Linked DNA regions of Homo sapiens: regions 1 and 2 are each linked to region 3. Evidence: promoter capture Hi-C in human tissues and cell types (Jung and others, 2019). All regions are on one chromosome and are shown on one strand. The core of a region is centred on a gene start or on the middle of the fragment in contact, and the rest is flanking DNA. Distances in the headings are between cores, read along the strand shown. Region 1 overlaps CYP39A1 (cytochrome P450 family 39 subfamily A member 1). Region 2 overlaps SLC25A27 (solute carrier family 25 member 27). Region 3 holds the start of RCAN2 (regulator of calcineurin 2).

Region 1 (2,784 bases), core at 68-2,567, 150 kb after region 3:
TCGCTTGAACCCAGGAGTTGGAGTCGCAGTGAGCCAACATCACACCACTGCACTCCAGCCTGGGTGACAGAGAGAGACTTTATCTCAAAACAAACAAATAAAAAAGATTCAACGTATTCTGTGAGATGATGGAAATCTATTCACTTTAAGGGATAATCTATAAATGGGTGATTAAGAGAGCTGGTATTTTCAGCCCTTCTCCCTCAAAATCTACAGTCCAGATACATTAAAAACATATTTTACATATCCCAGCATTTCAGAGGCTGTTCTGTCTGCTCAGAATGTTCTCTCCTTTATTATACCCATATCTACTCCCACCCAATCCCACACACTTATACCTATGAGCCTCAAACTTCTCCTGCAAATTTCTATTTGTCCTTCAAGTGTCTTCTTGAACACTACTTCCACCAGGAGGCCTTTCCTAACCCCATGAATAGCTTTGAGCCCACTATTTTCTTTATGTTAGTATTCGTGCTCCTTCTATAACACACATTCCTAATTAGAAATTGTGGTTTATTGTTTACTCATTTCTTTATATTTTTATTTTATCTTGTTTTATTGACCTTGAAGTAACTTTTTCTGTTTTAAAAAAATTTTGAATTTTATTTTAGATTCAAAGGGTACATGTGCAGGTTTGTTATACAAGTATATTGTGTTATGCTGAGGTTTGGGGCATGATTAATCCCATCACTCAGGTAATGAGCACAGTACTCAATAGTTAGTTTTTCAACCTTTGCCCCCTGCCGCCCACCCCCCTCCCTCTAGTAGTCCCCTGTGTCCATTGTTGTCATTTTATTGAAGTAACTTTTTCAAAGAATAAGTTTTAATTTTGTATTTCGTCATCCTATTACGTGTAAGATACATTTTGTGTAAGTTAATGAAAAACAGTTTTTAGATTTCCTGAGCATACATCTTCTCTATGTTACCATACCAGTATAGTATGTATACTATGCTACTATACATATACTATGCTGGTATGTATAGTATGCTACTATACATCTTCTGTATGTATAGTAGCATACATCTACTATATGGGAGGGATGGGAAGCTGACTCAAGAATAAATATTAATATATTTCATCTGTTCAATGAAATATTTAAACATGAAAGTCCCCAGAGGAGGCTCAGGTGAAAAAAACTCAATCATTTCCATACACCTCTGATAGGTAACTTAGTAAATTTTTCTGAAGGGATACGCGACTCTACAGATCAAAGGCCTTCAAAATATTTATATTATTTGATCTAAAATTCCATAGTCCAAGTATCAAGAAGCACTAAATAATCAAATAATTTCACCAACAGGTTGTGATGATCATGCATACAAGAAGAAAAAATATATATAATTCTATTGATTACTGGTAGCTTTTAAAACAAACTTTCTTGTCTTAATGGCAAGAAATGCACAAAAGGTTACATGAAAAGGAACCAAAGAAGAAAAAAGGGAAACAGAGAGAAAGAAGCCACAGAGAATAGAAGCAAGCAAAAACATTGTGAAAGCACAAAAAAGAACCAGACACAAATTGAACCAGCTCTGCGTTCCAGGGAGGACACATGGCCCCAGTACACACAATTGCAGCCTAGGAAGAAATGAAGGCAGACAGCCATACTGGAAGCATGCTGACTGTACAATCTGGTAGTCTCTGAAGATGGAGGATTTGTGAAAGGGCAAGTCAAGCTCCCATTGACCATAACAGCCCTATAAAATTTGTCAGGAAATGCCACTGTAAAGGATTTACTAAGCCATGGAATTCTAGTTTCAGGGACTGAGTAACATGTAACCAGTCCAAGAGCTGTACCCTGTAGAACACTGTATACACAGCAGTGGAACAGAGTTAGTGACATCTTGGAAGCTGTAACATGATACAGATTCCAAATATTCTCTAAAGAAAACATCAATGAGGTAACCTTATCACTTTCACGTGTCTAATTCAAATCTAAATGTATTAGGCTGCCATTCATTTGCATTTCAATGGCCAAACTATTCTACCCATAACTCTTTCCTCTTCTACCCATACCTCAAGAATAAAATAATGGACCCTCATCATTCTTGATAGAGGAATGAGGATGTAATTTTTACCTAAAACTACTCCTGGATTCCAATGTTGGATTTCGAATGGACTATCTGAAAATATTCTTTACCTGTACGATAAACGATATTTTGCACTGCTAGTTCAAAATCTACTTTTTTGGATTTTAGAAACACATTAATTCCTTCTTCTTCAGTAACAAAGGTCATTCGGTTTCCCATAGCAAAGACTGTAAATATTGGTCCATACTGAAATAAAACAAACATAGATTATATTAGTAAGCATTCCTAAGCCATGTTTAAGACCATTCTCCTCAAGAATCCTAATGCTGAAGTTATAGTCAAAAGAAAAATTATTATGATTATATTTGGCAATTAGTTATAAATTTTGATTGTTTCAGCCAGATCTGAATTATATACATTTTAATTTGTTCTGTCCTAATATGTAATATTCCCTTTGATCATTTTATTGCCTATTTATAGCTTCTTTTCTTGTACTATGAAATAAGTAGAAAATAATAATTATAAATAATTAGAAATTATATCAACATTGTGACATTTAAACATTGTTTTCAAGATATTGGTAGACTTATAAGCAACCTATAGCTGAATATTGTTCAACAAAAAGGTTCAAAATTGCCAACTGGTTTATGGGAAATCCATGGTTATTCAACAATGTCTTGCAATCCTATACACTTTTCTAATCTGTTCACTTTCCTAGTTTTCAAAATGATTATTTCACCTGTACAACCTGCCCAA
Region 2 (3,053 bases), core at 533-3,032, 180 kb after region 3:
ATATCCAAGCAGTCACCAAATCCAGTCGTTCCATCTTCCAGATATATCTCAAACTCATACACTTTTCTCCATTCCTGGAGCCATTCTGTAGTCCAAGTATTATTTATCCCCTCCTACTGGACCACTACAGAGGCCTTCTAACTAGTCTTTCCATATCTACCCCATTCCCATTTTGCCCCACTATGCCTTTGAAACTGATTTTATCAAGATTACCTTTGCTACTACCTTATTTTTTTTAATTTAAAACTGTCTTCATTTTCACCATCCCTATAAATGGTGCCTCTGTCCTTTAAATTGTTCACACTCAAAACCTTGCAGTTGTTTTTGATTTCTTTCTCCGTTCCATATTCGGTTTGCTGGCTGATCCTGTTGATTCTTCAAAATTTATCCAGAATCTGACCAGGGCTCCACAACTCCCTAATTCAAGTCGTCATCATCGCTTACTGGGATTACTGCTCTGCCTTGTTTTCCTGTAGTCTACTCTTAATAGGAACTATTGAGTTCTATTAAGTTCCAGTAAGAACTCGATAGTTCTATTAAGTTCTAAATAGTAACCTTGGGCAGTCACTCCTCTGCTCAAAAGCCTCCCCTGGCTTCTGCTCTTCATCATCTAGACTCTGCTACTTCTTGCATATTCTGCTGCTGCCGGCCCAGTCTTCTGGCTGTTCCTCTAACACAGCAAGCTGACTCCTGACTCAGGGTTAGAAAACATACTGTATTTTTGCCTGGGGCAATTTCTCTTAGCTATCTACAGGGTTGTTTTCTCATGCTTTCTTTTGGTCTCTGTTCAAATGTCCACTTATCAAGAGGTCTTGCCTGATCACCCAATTTAAAATTAATAGAAACTATTCCTCCCTACCCTCTGGTACTCTCTGTCCCCTTTCCTTACCTTCTTTGTCTTCAGGGCATTTACTTCAAGAGCAAGTGCATCTGAAACACCATGTAGTTTACTTTATTGTCTCATCCCACAACAGAGAGCAAGGATTTTTGTTCATTTTGTCCATGGCTGTTTCCCCCAATGTGATCAAATGTACCTATCCATTCTTGCCTCATTACAACTTACTTCCCCATACTTTAGTGTGGGTTAACTTTATATAACTCTAGCATTGTGATGTCATTCTCCTATTTAAAACCCTTCCATAGCTCTTCATTGCCATTAGAAAAATGTATAAAAGGGCCAGGCGCGGCGGCTCATGCCTATAATCCCAGCACTTTGGGAGGTTGAGGTGAGCAGATCTCTTGAGCTCCGGAGTTGGAGACCAGCCTGGGTAATATAGTAAAACCCCATCTCTACAAAAATATTGAAAAATTAGCCAGATGCACACCTGTAATCCTAGCTACTTGGGAGGCTGAGGCACAAGAATCACTTGAGCCCAGGAGGCGGAGGTTGCAGTGAGCCGCGATCACGCCACTGCACTCAAGCCTGTGTGACAGAGACCCTGTCTTGAAAATGTATAAAATGCTTAATGTAGAATAATAGTCAGGACCTTTTATTTATAAGTGACAGGATCTCAATTCAAATTACTTGATCAAATTACTTTTTTGGCTAAAAAAGTAATTTATTGGCTCAAATACTGAAAGGCCCAGGGGTTGAGCTGAATTTAGGCATAGCTAGATTAAGGAGTCTAAATGATACATTTGACTTTCTGTCTCTTCTTCTTTTTCTCTCCCTCTATCTGTAGCTGTGCTTTCCTTGAGAACAAGAAGGATTCCTTGGTAGCTTTCATCCTGGTACACATTCCTGCCCCAAGCCTAGCATATTCTTGACACAAAAGACATTCACTGTTGACTGATGAATATTTAAACTTTTTCCATTGCCAGATTTAACCACTTATGATACAGTGAAACACTACTTGGTATTGAATACACCACTTGAGGACAATATCATGACTCACGGTTTATCAAGGTAAGGATTGTTTTAGTTGGACTCTGTTTTTTTTTTTTGTATCACTTTTTCTTCCATATTTGACATAAATTCTTTAGGCTCATTTGATTGGGATTGTACTGGCATCACCTTTAGAGAAGAGTACATTTATAAAGAGAAATTTCTTAAAGTTTCTTGCAGTTAGAATGGGGAAGAGACAGACAAAGTTGTAGGATGTTTTGGATTAAACCTCTCAAAATATTTGCATCTTGATGGGGCCATCCCAGGAACAGGCTATGATGATGGACTCTCCAACTCATTTCAACAGATATGTTTGAGTGCCTTTTATGTTAAAGGCACTGGGCAGGGCTCTGCAGTGGGCACCAAAGGGGTAAACTCAATTCCTACCCAGGGAACTTACCAACCAGGAAAACAAGACAAATATAAAAACACTCTACAGGAAATGCTAAAAGGAAGCAACTAGTTACTACAGGGTTCAGGGGAAGGAAAAAACATAACCACTTGGAAGGATCCACAAAGGAGGTAGAAATAGACAAGGGTTTTCAAAGGCTGTGACTCTTCACAGAAAGGGATACGAAGGGCTTTCCAGGAAGGAGCAGTACCTTGATCTCTTTGCAACACAATTTCAAATTATCCATTAGAATGACTTATTTTATAGATGTCTACTGTCCTTGACATTATAGTGATTTCATTTAGCTTCTGATCGTTTCCAAATTCTAAAACTTCCTATGCTATTTAGATGACCCTAAAAGTAGACAACCCTAAAAGTGTAATAGTGTCAAGTCAAATATTTGGAGGTAGGGGTGTGTGTGTGCACGCGCATGCACACACGCATGTGAATTTAACCACTCCAAGAGTATTACTGACTCGGCTTTTGCATGTACTGTTCTATCTTCTTGTAACATTCTTCCTTCAGGTCTTCATATACATGTGTCCTTTGTAACCACTCAATTCTGCTGTCACCCCCGGAGCTTTCCCTGACTGCCTGTCACCCAGTTGCTCCCTGTCACACTTCCCCATGTTTTTTTCATAGCTTTTGTCAGCTTCTGAAATTATTTATTTGACTTCTGCCTTTTCCCAAGTGAAGTATAAGCTCCTCAAGGGCAGGGTCTTACCTGTCTTGTTCACTGCCTAGAAGAATGCTTGACACCAGCAGGTGCACAATGCC
Region 3 (2,726 bases), core at 21-2,520:
TAAGTTGAGTGAAATTCTGGCTGAAGGGAGAGAGAAGTGTGAGCTGGAATGCTGTGACATCCCTTCATCTCCAATTGTGGAAAACTGTGGGAATGCATATTAAAGGAACCCCAGAAACTTTTGTTTTTACTAAACTGAGACTTAAAAAAACTTCATTTGGCAGTTGAACACCTCTATCCCATTGTAAGAAACAGGAAAGATTCAAAGCATGCATTCTGCTATAATTCATTTTGGGATAAGAAATAGGCAGAAGTACCTCGAAGAATAAATCATTAACTAAAAGGCAAACCGAGGCACCCTGGAAACCAGCGAGACCTGGAGGCGGCCGAGGGATCAGGCGGCTGGGATTTGCCTGTTCCCTCTGGTGACTTCTGGAGCGAAGCATCCCACAGGCAGGACGAACCCGGCACACTGCGCTCCGCTCCATTTCACTTTTCAAACTTGAAGTTATTTTTAGATGACCCAAGGCCGCTAATCCCAAGCAGGACAATTCTCAGCCCGCTGCACCTCAGTGCACCTACCCCCTCCCCAGCCTCTGCATTGGGAAGAAGGGATCTCTCGATCTTCTTTGCTCTCTGCATCCAGTTAGTCTCTTCTAGACCCTCTCTAAGCCTCAGTCCCGGGGATCACAGGCGTCATCCTCGCTCCTTCACTTATGCACCTGCTGCTGCTTCCAGGAAGGCAAACCCCCGGGCCACGGGCAGTGGGGAAGGGGCTCCTTTGGACCCGCGCCCCCTAGAGGGGGGTCGCGGGAGATCTCCGTCCCCACGGCCGCAGCCGGGACTGACCACAGATCTGGAGACAAACCCCACCCCCGCCACTGCCCCCACCCCCGCCACCGCCCCCGCCCCCGCCCCCGCCCCCGCCCTGCACCCAGACCCGGCCCGGAGACCAGATCCCCGCCGCGGACCCCCGGCACGACCCCGGGGCTGCTGTCAGCCCCGGCGGGACGGGGTGCCTGGGCGAGCCTGGCCGGCGCGGTTACATAACCGACCTGCTGGGCGTCCGCGATGCGCCGGCGGAGGCGGAGGCGGAGGCGGCGGCTGGGGCGTCTACGGGGGCCAGCTGCTAGCGCGCGGCGCTGCCTGCTCACCTGCCCGCCGGTGCGAGCGCGTGGGGGCGGCGCGGTGCCCGCGGGCCTTTGCGTGGGGCCGTACGCGGCGCGGCGCGCCCCGCCTCCCTCTCTCTGCCGCCGTGGGTCAGTGGGATTCTGCCTGCTGCCCGCTCCTCCCCGCAACCTCCGCCGCCGTCACCCGGGACAAAGCGGCTCCAGGGAGGGGCTGAGCCGGCGGCTCTCGCAGGAGCCGGCGGAGATGGGCGCGTCCCCAGCTCCGACTCATCGGGCCAACCTCCAATCAGACCCAGGGAAACCGAAAGCCCCTGTCTGGCCTCTTCTCATCTCCTCCCTCCTGACCCGGCGCCCTCCCCAGTCCCCTACCCACCGCACCTCCGGGGCTCTCACCCTGCCCTCAGCCCCGCACCCCCTCCTTTCCACTTCAGGTGCCCGGGAGGGCGCAGGAGCCTCCGGGCACCTGGCGTGGGAGCCTGGCTGCAGGAGTCCCGGCCTCAGCGGGAAGAGGCTCCTCGGGGTCCCATACTAAGCTGAGGGTGAGGGGGCAGCGACAGCCCAGAAGAAATGGTCAGAGAAGCAAACTGTGGTGGGGGAGTACTGGGAGAAAGACTCTTCTTACCAGATGTCTGAGCCCCCCGACTCTGGCTAACTGAGGAAATGTCGGGGAGCCCCTGGATGGTCCTCCCGGGCTTCTGCGCTTGGTGGGCGCTGGCGCCCTCTGGCTGGAGCCCTGCGCCCGGCCCAGCCCAGGCCGCTGAGGGTGCCCTGCGCGGGCTTCACAGCTTTGCCAGGATTTGCAGCCATCAGACCTGAGGACAGAAGGGTTCGGGCTGCAAGGAATCCTATTGTGTGAGAGCCATGACACAGTGAGTGGGAGGTTGGTATCCTACAGCAAACGGGACTGAAGGTGAATCGCAATCTAGGGTAGATCTGTTGCTCAACAAAGTTAACCCCAGTAGAAGTCTCTGCTTTACGGAATAAAGCAACTCAAATGGGTAAGGAAGCCTGTGGCTTACGGGTGGCACAGATAGGAACAGGACTGAGTCTCATGGCAAGAGAATGTGAATTATGCAAAAGATCATAGGAGAGTGCGGGAAATTAAAGGAAGGAGGTGTGCAGACCAATCTGAGGGAGGGAGTGAATAACATTTAAATCAGGTTTGTGTTCTGTCATCTTTCGAATTGCTGCATAAATAAGCCGTTTTCTTTTTGCTTTTTATGCCTTTTGATTTTCTGATAACAATATTACGATTGCACTGAAGCAGTCCATTCACAATCATTCTTCACTTACCCACACTACGTTGTTTTTTTCCAAAGTTGACATACAATCACGTTTTGTTTGTTTTCAACAAAAAAAGGTAGACGAGACGTTGGCTCTTCTCTCTGATTAATCTGCATTAACATAAACACAATTTCAGAATTGAAAATGACCTTAGGCTTCCCCTCGTTCAGCCTTCCCCTGGATGCATAAATCTGTAATTAGTCGTTGATTTAGATAATTGCCATTTGGGTTAGAATTGTCTGAAAGGGCATTCTTAAGTTGAGCAAAAACTTGCCTCCCTTTAATCATTAGTTCTCCCTTACTTTTTGAAGCCAAAGAAACCAAGTCAAATTCCTCTTCTAACTATCTTTAAAATATGTAAAAATAGCTAGCA

Evidence for each region. Contacts are between HindIII fragments. The study calls those that stand out against the background at their distance.
Region 1: a fragment that was not itself captured here is called in contact with the fragment with the promoter of RCAN2 in region 3 in 1 of the 25 tissues and cell types used here (hippocampus).
Region 2: a fragment that was not itself captured here is called in contact with the fragment with the promoter of RCAN2 in region 3 in 1 of the 25 tissues and cell types used here (psoas muscle).

What each region holds. Positions count from the first base shown.
Region 1 is chr6:46,640,025-46,642,808 of GRCh38, forward strand. It overlaps CYP39A1 (cytochrome P450 family 39 subfamily A member 1), which reads right to left. Exons shown (of 12, transcript NM_016593.5): 2 at 2,139-2,274. Among named protein-coding and RNA genes, the nearest start is that of CYP39A1, 11 kb to the right of the region's middle. The HindIII fragment of the contact is 6,673 bases long and covers 1-2,784 here.
Region 2 is chr6:46,666,888-46,669,940 of GRCh38, forward strand. It overlaps SLC25A27 (solute carrier family 25 member 27), which reads left to right. Exons shown (of 9, transcript NM_004277.5): 6 at 1,822-1,906. Among named protein-coding and RNA genes, the nearest start is that of SLC25A27, 15 kb to the left of the region's middle. The HindIII fragment of the contact is 7,013 bases long and covers 1-3,053 here.
Region 3 is chr6:46,490,179-46,492,904 of GRCh38, forward strand. It overlaps RCAN2 (regulator of calcineurin 2), which reads right to left and starts at 1,271. Exons shown (of 5, transcript NM_001251974.2): 1 at 995-1,271. It overlaps RCAN2-DT (RCAN2 divergent transcript), which reads left to right and starts at 1,874. Exons shown (of 3, transcript NR_125837.1): 1 at 1,874-1,949. RefSeq lists silencers at 1,234-1,323, 1,834-1,893. The HindIII fragment of the contact is 8,830 bases long and covers 1-2,726 here.